3 separate regions of the Homo sapiens genome follow, and all the other regions are linked to region 2. Evidence: promoter capture Hi-C in 16 types of primary human blood cells and fetal thymus (Javierre and others, 2016). All regions are on one chromosome and are shown on one strand. The core of a region is centred on a gene start or on the middle of the fragment in contact, and the rest is flanking DNA. Distances in the headings are between cores, read along the strand shown.

Region 1 (3,989 bases), core at 566-3,065, 670 kb after region 2:
ATAATTAAACATAACAAAACAACTGTAATCAGTTACACTATGTTCTTAAACTCTTAATTGAGTATGTGAAAAAATAAAGACCAACACTTAATTTAATTTACATGTTTTCTGGGTAATGTTCTCACTTTTTATAAACTAATATTAAATTAAATATAATTTTTCTTAATAAGGATAATATTTTTACATATAGTTGTGAAAATTCTAATTTTCAAATAAAGCTATCTGAGGGCATCCTGTTATGGTTAAAAGTACACACTGCCCACAGAGACAAAGAACTCTGCAGGAACAATGAACACACTCCTAAGTCCTTCAGTTCACCTACAATCCATGAATATTTTAAAATCATGTATAATATGAAATCTCCACAAGATATGCATTAAACAAAAGAAAGAACTTTTTGTACATTTTGCTAAAAATAAAAAACCCACCACACTTGAAAATGAAATAATTTCCTTGAAAAGGTAACTTGTTCTCTGTCACTATTATTTGGATATCCATTCAAAAAATTTTTAAAACACATTTTAAAATAATAATTGTTATTCTCAAAAACATCAACTGTAGGTTACTTGCAAGAACATGAAATAATTATTTCAGTGACATAGAAAACAAGCTCGTATTATATTCCTACAATACTCATCTTCTATCTTGAAAGGCTCTTATGAAAACCTGTACTATACAACCTTTTTTAACTTCAAGAGCTATCTTATTCTTTCTGTTTAAATAGTAAAGATAAACTGATTTTTACACACATATTAGATTTTCTACAAATGACTAAACACATATTTAGATATCAAATGTGGACATATTTAGTTAAAATCAATTAAACTGAGAAGTCCTTCCCTCTGGCTGTCTATATTTTTCTTTAATCCTGGTCAGTGTAAACCCTTATTACCAGTAATTTGTGACTATAATGCTGAGGAAAAATGCTAGCCTCACGATTTTTGTCATTTCTCCCCCCTCCTCCCCTGCAGGCTGCTACTGTTGATGGCCTTTATGGAAATATAAATTCAATCAGCAGCTGCAAATTTCATGAGACGTCCATCTTCATGCTGAATTTCTAACTGAGTGTCAAAACAATCTGTGGATTTCTCCCTGATGAAACACATATTGAATTGTAAATTTCTGCAATTTCCTCATGTTTGAATTTCAGTTGCAGCAAAATAGTGCTATCTCAGATATATTTCCCATAAGGCTCAAACAAGTAATTTTCTCCTATTCCTTCATTCCATTTAAAGAGTTAACTTTTTTAAAAAGCCATGATATAAAACATCTGCCCCCAAGTGAACAATTAAATTTTCTATATTATTATAAGAAAATGAGCATATAAAAACCATTAATATATGTTTTACAAATAAATTTTCACCCCAAGAGACTTATTTTTTCTATGTGATCTTTATTTACTTACTTATTTATTTTGTAATTAGTGGTAAACAATGCAATAAGCTTTGATAAAATTAGTGTTTTCTATATATGAAGTCAAGACAGTAAATAAATCAAAAGCAGTCACAAAATAATGACTAGTAACTTCAAGGTTAATGAGACACATTTTCATTAAATATTGCCAAGAGTAAAAATATTAAAACATAGAATCAAAACAGAGCAGGCATTCCTCTTAATACATATTTACAGAGTTAATTTTTCACCAAAGAATCATTTTCAACTAAATAGCTAAATAGAACTGCTTTTAAATAACACACTATTATAGAAACCATATTCTTTCACAACTAAATAAGCAAAAATGTTATATGTTTAAAAAAGATATCTTAAGAAATTCATTAAGTAACTTGTATTCCAAGATACTAACTTGTTTTTATAAACATCTTTTATTAATATTACTAACAAAATAATTCATAGTCCTATTTAAAAATTCAACAAGACAATGCAGTAGACAAATCTTACGGATGATCTGTAAAACAAGTAATGAAATCACAATTATCGATTCATTCAATAAATATATATTGAACATCTCCTATGTGCCAGTTATGTTTATGAGGTCATGGGGTTATGGAGATGTGCAGAATACAGTCCTTTACCTCAGAGAAGGCAGTTTAGTTGAGAGGCAAAAAGAAAAAAAAATATTAAAACATAGTAAAATAAATGCTATAAGCTGACACATTATGGGAGGACAAATTTAGGGGAACGCTGAAGAGAGGGACAGCTATATCAATAAGCAGTTATAGAAGCTTTCAAAAAGAGCTGTAGTTTCTAAGGACGTATAGGAGTTAGCCAGGAGAGAAGCAGAAGGAGAGACATTCTAGGCAGAGGGGAGAATACAATTAAACACATGGAAGCATGAAATAGAGGGCCTTTGGAAAACTGTTAGCAATTGGAAACAGAGAACAAGGCTGATATGTAGTATGATAGAATAAGGTAGGCTAGAATATTAAATACTTATTTAAACATTTATTTTTTAAATAATAAAATGTTTATTTAAACATTATCCAGAAAGCAGTGGGAAAATATTTTAAGCAGAGGTATAATAATAATCAAGGATATCTCTCAACAGGATATAAAAGCTACAGTATAATGATTAAGAATACAAGCCTCTGGAGCCAGACTTACTTTAAATAGAGCTCTGCCATGTGCTAACTATGTGATTTGGGATAAGTTACTTTCTCTATTTCTCAATTATCTCAACAGTAAAACAGTGATAATAATACTACATATTGCAGGGTTAGAATGAAAATGACGTGTCTTATAATTATTTGAAGCTATTATTATTACTATTATTATTATCATTTTATAACTTGGTAGGGTCTATCAGTCTAACTTAACATATATGAGGCCTAAAACAAATAAACTTATTAAAATCACCTAGAACGTCCTTTGGCACAAACTAAACATTTGACTTATTTTCACTTAGAAAACATTTACTGAATATTTATTAGGTACCAGATACACACAAAACAAAAAATGTTTGAAAAACGCACTGGAGGGAAAAGAAAAGTTAAAACAATCCCAAAACAGAATTTTTAAAAAGCTATTAGAGAATCAACCAATATCCTTAAAATAGAAAGAAATTAAGAGTCAATCAAATTACATCAATGTTAAAAAAAACAGAAAATTCTTATAACATGGTATAGTCCAAGCCAATATGTAAGGGCTTCCTTCCTGCTCCAAACACAGAGAAATACTGGATAAAATACTTTCAAAATAATACTTTGCTAAAAATAAGAAACAAAAATTCCTCAAGTGCTGGAAACAAATAGAAGTCAAAGCCAGAGCCATAAGCTTAAACAGACACTGTAGCAATCCCCGGGGTTTCAAACTCAGCTCTAGGCTTTAAGGGCTAAGTGCTTGGACATACACCTTTAAATCACTTGCAGGAGTGAAAACATACCCATAGCTGATGTGAGGTGGGGGATCAAGAACTGAGCATCCACCTAAAGCTCACAGAATCAAAGAGGTGTGCTACTCAAGAAAAATTAACTAGAAAAACGTGGCCCATGAACTCTAAGAGGAAAGAAGCCAGTCATTAATTTGAAGCCTTCAATGAGAGAGGGAAAACAGTCACCACTAAAACATAAAAAACTCTACAAGAGTATCCTATATATGTGAGGGTTTTAAATTTACATAATTCCGTGGTGTAAAATTTAAAAGTAACATAAAATCTGACTGGACCCTTGAAATTTTTAAGGACCAAAAGATGTAGATGTAAATAGTCCCACAAAGATACTCACATACTATACTGGACTTCCATAGAATACATAGTCCCTAGTAAAGATGAGCTCATAATAAAAAATTATAAATTGAAGAAACCATCACGAGGAGAAAGCTTTAGCTGATGTAATAAATAGGCAAATTACCCTTCAAATACTACAAATAAAATAATCTAAAACTATAAATAGAATCTGAAAATGACTAAACCAGTAAAAATGTTTAGAATGATTTTTCAAAGACAGAAAAGCCACAATGACAACACTGGTTATGCAAAAAAAAGAACTAAAATATTTTTAAAAGAACCAAAGAGAAATTCAATAAAAAAAAAT
Region 2 (3,870 bases), core at 99-2,598:
GCCCGCCACCACGCCCAGCTAACTTTTTATATTTTTAGTAGAGACGGGGTTTCACCGTGTTAGCCAGGATGGTCTCGATCTCCTGACCTCGTGATCTGCCCACCTCGGCCTCCCAAACTGCTGGGATTACAGGCGTGAGCCACCGCACCTGGCCTTACAAATATTGTTTTAAAGCCTATTCTGTTTGCAGAAGTGCTAGTTTACAGAGAAGTTAATGGTGAAGTAAAGGCAGACCCAGTTCCCCCTCATGGGAGCGTTAACTATATAATCACACAAACACATGTTAGGCCACACCTGGGATCTGGGGTGTACATCAGAGGTGCCTGGTGATTTGAGGGCACATTAACCTTGCCTGAGTGTCAGGGAGGGCTTCCCTTGAAGATCTGAGGCTTTAGCGGAGATGGGGAGGGTGAGGAGGAGTTAACTCTGGGGAGGGTGGGGACCAGAGCATCCAGACAGAGGAAGTCTTGCAGGCAGAGGCCCTGGACTGGGAGGGAACACGAGTAGGAGAAATTGAAAGGAGAGTTGTGTGACTGAGACCCAGAGCAAGGGAAAGTGGGCTGACAAAGGGGCAGGAGCCATCTTAAAGTGCATTATGACCCTAAGAACAATGGGAAGACATCAAAAAGTCTTTACTAGGCAGGGGAAAATGTTTAAATGTTAGCAGTAAACTTCACATAAGATAATTCCTCACTGGCCAATTCATACCATTATTCTGCATTTAGGTTTTAAAACATGGAAAGTTCCTTTTAAAAGCCAAAACATCCTTTTTAAATATCCAAAGGCCTCTATCATTTATTCATTCATTCTACAACTATTCTTGAGCACCCACTATGCACTGGGCCCTGCCTCTCGGTCACCGCCAATATCGAGCTTACATGCGGGTGAGAGAGACAGACAAGGAACAACAGCCGCATGGCCAGGGGTCTCTCCAGGGCTCTTGGTACTCCAGTGCCTCCCTGCACCCAGCCATCCTCAAAGCAACATTGGTATGAATGAGGCTGAGACTCACAGAGAAAGACAATAGTGGACAAAACAAAGTCGTGGCTCCCTGCAGGCTGACAGCCTAGTACAGGGAGCTAAGAACACATAACAGATGAATAGCTATACACACACCAGGTAGTTATAAATGCCATGAAAAATAAGACAGATAAGAGGAGTACAGAATGATGAAGGGCTTGCTATTTTATATACGATGGTCAAGAAAGTCTCTGATTAAGTGTCATTTGAGCAGAGAATGTGCTAGGAAGCTCTATGGAGGAACAGCATTCCAGGGAGATGGAATCACAAATGCAAAGATTCCGAGGTGGAAGCATGCTTGCTTTGTTCCGGGAACACAAGGAAGTCAGTGTGTCTAGAGGGGTGCACAGGGAGTGGCACGGCAAAGGGAATTGCCCCTCAGGAGCAGAGGGTTATGTCAGAGGGGAGGCGCGAACCAGGTCGCATAGCACATTCTAGGATGTAATGAGTGTGGATTCTATGTTGCCATGGGAAGCCAGCATCCTTGCACGAGGTGGTTAAGTGCTGAGAGAAGATAAATCAGATTAAGGGGCTAGAGAGAGACTGGAAGCCTGGGGAAGCTATTTGAAACAAACGGGCAGAGGAGCTCTCTCTGAGGAAGTGACTTTAGGGCTGAGTCTTGAAATATCTGAAGTAGCGACCATGCAGATTTCTGGGATAAGCCAGTTCCAGGCAGAAAAAATAGCACTGAAGTGGGAATAAGCATCACATATCCTGGAAAGAGCAAGAAGGTCAGCGTGGCCAGGGCACAATACCAGAGGAAGCAGGGGGAGGAGGCCAGCCCTGTGGAGGCCGTGGGACGGTACTTGGCTTTTATTCTAAATACACTGGGAAGATTTTCGAGGACTGTAAGTAGAAATGACATGGTATGTGTTTTCGTGGGATTACTCTGATTGCTGCATTGGGAATAGACAATAGCAGGGAAGAAGTGGAAGCAGGGAGACGAGATAGAACCCTGTTGCAGTAGCTAAGGCCTAAGATGGCAATGGCCTAGACAGAGGTGGCTGCAGGGATTAGGTTCAGGACCTATTTTGAAAGCAGAACTGGCAATACTCACTAATAAATAGGATATGGAGGTAGAAGAAAGAGAAATCAAAGATGACTTCTGTTTTTGTTGTAGCTTGCTTGTTTTTCGAGGGAACTGGCTGAAAACCCAGTAGATTTTGGTGGCTGTTCTTGACTAAGAAGAGTGTGGAACAAAGTCACAGAGCCACGGCCCCAGACAAGACCTGGATGAAGCGCTACAGCCTGGTAGTGCCAAGACTGGGAGGGAAACAGAAGAGCACTATGAGACAGAATCCAGAAGCAAGGAGAGGAAGGAAAGGCCTTGGACCCCCTAAGGAGAAGGAGGTTGGGAGGACCTATTAGGGAACACTTCACAGCTATGCTCCCTAGATTACTTTTGTGATCATTATAGAGTAAAACTGACTTTGTGTCTGTATATATTTACAGGTCTATGAATTTCAGTCATTGTATAATATACATATAAAACCACTACCACAATCAGGATACAGAACAATTCCATTGCCCTAAAAAACTCCCTCATGGCATCCCGTGTGTTTGTTTGTTTGTTTGTTTGTTTGTTTGTTTGTTTTTGAGATGGAGTCTCACTCTGTCACCCAGGCTGGAGTGCAGTGGCGTGATCTCAGCTCACTGCAACCTCTGCCTCCCACATTCAAGCAATTCTTCTGCCTCAGCCTCCTGAGTAGCTGGGACTTCAGGCATGTGCCCCCACACCTGGCTAGTTTTTGTGTTTTTAGTAGAGATGAGGTGTCTCCAGTGTTGGCCAGGCTGGTCTTGAACTCCTCATCTCAAGTGATCTGCCTTCCTCAGCCTCCCAAACTGCTGGCATTACAGGCGGGAGCCACTGCACCTGGCCCATGGTATCCCTTTGATCTGTTCTCCATTCATCGTGTCTTTTTGAGGCTGCCATAGAAATTGAATCATATAGTATATAATCTTTTGAGACTGGATTCTTTTTTTTTTTTTTTTTTTGAGATGGAGTCTCGCTCTTTCGCCCAGGCCGGACTGTAGTGGCAATATCTTGGCTCACTGCAAGCTCCGCCTCCCGGGTTCACGCCATTCTCCTGCCTCAGCCTCCCGAGTAGCTGGGACTACAGGCGCCTGCCACTGCGCCCAGCTAATTTTTTGTATTTTTAGTAGAGACGGGGTTTCACCGTGTGAGCCAAGATGGTCTCAATCTCCTGACCTCGTGATCCGCCTGCCTTGGCCTCCCAAAGTGCTGGGATTACAGGCGTGAGCCAGCACGCCCAGCCGAGACTGGATTCTTCCATGCATAATGCCTTTCAAAGGCCTCTGAGATTCATCCACTTGTTGCTTTTTATTGCTGAGTAAATATTCCAATGTATGGATGTACCACAGTTTGTTTGTCCATTCATCCATTGAAGCACACTCAAAGTATTTCCAGATTGGAGCAATTAGGATGAAAGCTTTTGGCAGGCACGGTGACTCATGCCTATAAGGCCAAGGTGAGAGGATCAGTTGAGCCCAGGAGTTTGAGGCCAGCCTGGGCAACATGGTGAAATCCCGTCTTTACAAAAAATACAAAAATTAGCCAGGTGTGCACTTGAGCCATGGAGGTCAAGGCTGCAGTGAGACATGACCATGACACGGCACTCCAGCCTGGGTAACAAAGTGAGAAGACTTGGCCTCAAAAAAAAAAGCTGCTAAAAACATTCATGTGTAGGCTTTCATAAAAACATAAGTTTTCATTTCTCTAGGGTAAACACACAGGAGCAGGATTGCTGGGTCATATGGTAAGTGCATGTTTAACTTTGTAAGAAACTTCCAAACTGTTTTCCAGGATGGGTCCTGCATTTTGCATCCCCA
Region 3 (3,817 bases), core at 400-2,899, 610 kb after region 2:
TCAGAATGGCTATTATTAAAAAGTCAAAAAATAACAGACACTAGCAAGGTTGCAGAGAAAAAGGAATGCTATACATTGTTGGTGGGAGTGTAAATTGGTTCAACCATTGTAGAAGACAGTGTGAGATTCCTCAAAGACCTAAAGACAGAAATACCATTTGACCTAGCAATCCCATTACTGGGTATAAACCTAGAGGAATATAAATCATTCTATTATAAACACACATGCATGTGTATGTTTATTGCAGCACTATTCACAATAGCAAAGACATGGAATCAACCTGAATGTTCATCAGCGATACACTGGATAAAGAAAATGTGGTAAATATACACCATGGAATACATGCAGCCATAAAAAAGAACAAGATCATGCCTTTGTAGGGACATGGATGGAGCCAGAAGCCATTATCCTTAGCAAACTAACACAGGAACAGAAAACCAAATAATGCATGTTCTCACTTATAAGTGGGAGCTAAATTATGAGAACACATGGACACCTAGAGAGGAACAACACACACTGAAGCCTATTGGAGGGTGGAGGATGGGAGGAGGGAGAGGATCAGGAAAAATAACTAATGGGGTACTAGGCTGAATACTTGGGTGATTAAATAATCTGCACATCAAAATCTCCAGACACACATTTACTTATGTAACAAACCTGCATATGTACCCCTGAACTTAAAATAAAAGTTTTTTTAAAAATAAAGTTACTTATGTATAATTATGATTTTTTTTCTAGAAAACAGCTTCCTTTTAAAATAACTCAACATGAACTATATATCTATAAAAGGTTTCAGCAATATATCTTCAGTTTTAATGTAGAGTAGAAGTTAATTCTAGCTTTAGAAAAATCAACTTCTAGGACAGGTGTCAGCAAAGTATAGCCTGCAAGCCAAGTTTAGCCTACCACTTTTTACATTTTTTTAATGGTTGCAAAAACATCAAAAGACGAACAGTATTTCATGACATGAAAATCATAGAGAATTCAAAATTTCAGTGTCTAGAAATAAGGTTGATTGGAACACAGACAAACATTTGTTTACATATTATTTGTGGCTGCTTCTGTGCTACAACATTAGAGTTGAGTAATTGTAACTGACTAAGTGGCCCATAAAAAACCTAAAATATTTACCATCCGGACCTTTAAAGAAAAAGTTTGCCAACTCCTGTGCCAGGGCTACAATTAAGTATAATCCCTTTAGCGAAAAATACATATTTTGATGCAAAAACACTTTCATATTATTTAAAATAAAAATCATTATTGATTATTATACTTTTAACTAATGATTACCATGTATTCTAGAGTCTATGAAGACACACCAGTGGGCATAAGACCATGCTGAAAAAGTATAATGGCATAATGCACACTTATCGTCACCATGAGAAAAACAACTCTAAATAACAATCTGCCCTACTGATGAGTCTATAAAACAGCATTTTCAGTTCTCTTGTAAGGCTGAAAAAAAAAATACTTCAATTGAATACAAATCATTAAAAAAATTCCAAAGTAGTTAAAGAGGTTGGAGAAACTCTGTTATATGTTTTCTAAAGCTTACTGGTTTTGCATAAGTTTATAAAATTCATCCATTAATATAAGAATGTAATAGAACTTAAATACTGAATGTATTATAATAAATATTGCCTAGTCTATTTACTGTCAGGGGACTTCTTTTAGCTTCATTTTCAATGACCATTTAATGAATCTTGGTTTTACACAGATACATAAACATAACTACTGAAATAAGCTTGTATATTTATAATTGTACAATAACCAGATACTTGAAATGTCCTGTTGGGATGATGAGTGATGCCACTACTATTTGTTATGCATCCTGTAAAGGCTACAGCCGGAAATGCTCAACGTGACCACTTATTTGTAAAATCATACCCAATTTCCCAACTACTACATACAACAAATGACCAGCTGAAGTTTGCATTAATATCAAGACATTACTTTGTTGTTTTTGTTAACTTCAAAACAGTCTGAAACTGAACCATTATCCAATTATAAATTATATAATTTTGCCACTGCTAGTGATATTTATGTGGTGAAATCTGTATCAGTCCTCATTATAATGTAAACATTGTTTGAAATGAATTTAGCAAGATAACTGGACAGTTTACACCTTATGATCCTAGCATTCTTTCGTCAATATTCATTTGCATTCTCATCAGCATGTATGAGATTTTCACTGAACTTTAATATTCCTATTAGAATATAAGCCACTATAATAAGATTAAAGGTGAGTATGCAAATTAAAGCACCCTTTAATCACTTAAAGAGACTAGAAGAATCAAGCAAGAAAATACTTCATGAAGCATACACTCTTCAAATCTCCACAGGTGCTAAAAATGGCAAGTACACCTTTAGAAGCGTTGTCAATAGAGGCTAAAGTAAATGAAATACTCTATCACCAGATCCAGTAGGTAACCATTCAGAACCAAAATTACGGAAAGGTTATCAATAGTCTGCATCCAAAAGATATTGCATTAGAAATATGTGCTTACTTCACTTACAGAAGAGACTGTAATAAAGCCTCATCTTTAAAAAAATGATCTTTGCTAGTTCTGAGTGCTGACACTTCATAAAGGACTATAAAAATAAGAGATCCACAGTTTTTACTGTGAAAATCCTTCAAAGGATATATTATGAAACAAATCATTTTCCAATTATTGACTTTTAAGGATATCTTAGGGATATTATTAAGTTGGCATCTTTAAGTTACAAATTTTGTGGTGCTCATGGCTATTACTGTCTTTTCTCTTAACTTTATTGAGGTATAATTTACAAAATACTGTGAGCCATTTCAAGTGTGCAATTCCACAACTTCTAACAAAAATATTTACAATCCTGTAATTAGCACCACAATCAACAGACAGAACATTTCCATCACCTATAAAAGTTCCCCAGTCTGTTTACATGGAAACACCCACCTTATCCTACCCATAGTCCCCAGGCAATGAGTGATACTCTTAAGGTAGCCTACACAACCACCACCTCCTGGTACTCATACATTTGTATTATCTCTTCTCCTTGAATGAGGGTAGGACCCATGAATTCTAATTATAAGAACACGGCAAAGGTGATGGGATATATGTGCTCATGTGATTACGTTATATAAGATTATGGTGCTCATCTTGGCTGGAGTATTTTTCCCCCTGGCTGGCTGTAAGGAAAATGTGGCCATATTGGGAAACACCATTGGCAAGAAATTGCCAGTGACCTCTAGGACTCAGTGTGGTCTTTGGCCAACAACCAGTGAAAAAGTGAAGCTCTCAGTCTTACAACAGCAATGAACTGAATGCTGCCAACAACCACACAAGTGGGATGGTAGAGCTTTTCCTAATCAAGTCTCTAGATGAGAACCCAGCCTTGGGTTGATTACAGCTTAGTGAAACCCTTAACTAAAGAACCTAGCTAGGCTGTGCTTGGGCTCCTGATGCACAGAAACTGTAAGATAATAAATGTGTCTTATTTTAAGCTATTATTATTGTGGTAATGTTGACATACAGCAATAAAAACAAACATAATGAGCATATCAGCAGTTCATTATTTTTTATTGATGTGTAGTATTCCTTTGCATGGAAGTATGACAATTTGTTTATCCTCTCACTTGTTGGACATTTTAGTGGTTTTCAGTTTTTGGCTATTATGAATAAAGCTGCTGGGAAAATTCCGGTACAAGAATTTGTTTGGACTTATGTCTTTATGTCTCTGGGTGAATACTTAGCCATAAAATGTCCAGGTTGTAGGATAAGTGTGTATGTTTAAACTGATAAAGAACTAATAAACTGTTTTCCAAAGTAGTTGTAACATT

The links. The method cuts DNA at HindIII sites, captures the fragments that hold promoters and counts their contacts. A CHiCAGO score of 5 or more calls a contact.
Region 1: a contact is called between a fragment that was not itself captured here and the fragment with the promoter of LINC03152 in region 2, in 2 of 17 cell types (monocytes and total B cells). The highest score is 6.5, in monocytes.
Region 3: a contact is called between a fragment that was not itself captured here and the fragment with the promoter of LINC03152 in region 2, in 1 of 17 cell types (M1 macrophages). The highest score is 5.1, in M1 macrophages.

The regions. Positions count from the first base shown.
Region 1 is chr5:61,023,222-61,027,210 of GRCh38, reverse strand. All of the region lies in intron 1 of NDUFAF2 (NADH:ubiquinone oxidoreductase complex assembly factor 2), which reads right to left. Among named protein-coding and RNA genes, the nearest start is that of NDUFAF2, 80 kb to the right of the region's middle. The HindIII fragment of the contact is 740 bases long and covers 1,446-2,185 here.
Region 2 is chr5:61,695,910-61,699,779 of GRCh38, reverse strand. LINC03152 (long intergenic non-protein coding RNA 3152) reads left to right here and starts at 1,348. Exons shown (of 8, transcript NR_109910.1): 1 at 1,348-1,868; 2 at 2,141-2,370; 3 at 3,762-3,797. All of the region lies in intron 1 of LINC03122 (long intergenic non-protein coding RNA 3122), which reads right to left. The HindIII fragment of the contact is 4,284 bases long and covers 1-3,472 here.
Region 3 is chr5:61,087,565-61,091,381 of GRCh38, reverse strand. All of the region lies in intron 2 of NDUFAF2 (NADH:ubiquinone oxidoreductase complex assembly factor 2), which reads right to left. Among named protein-coding and RNA genes, the nearest start is that of SMIM15-AS1, 73 kb to the left of the region's middle. The HindIII fragment of the contact is 194 bases long and covers 1,553-1,746 here.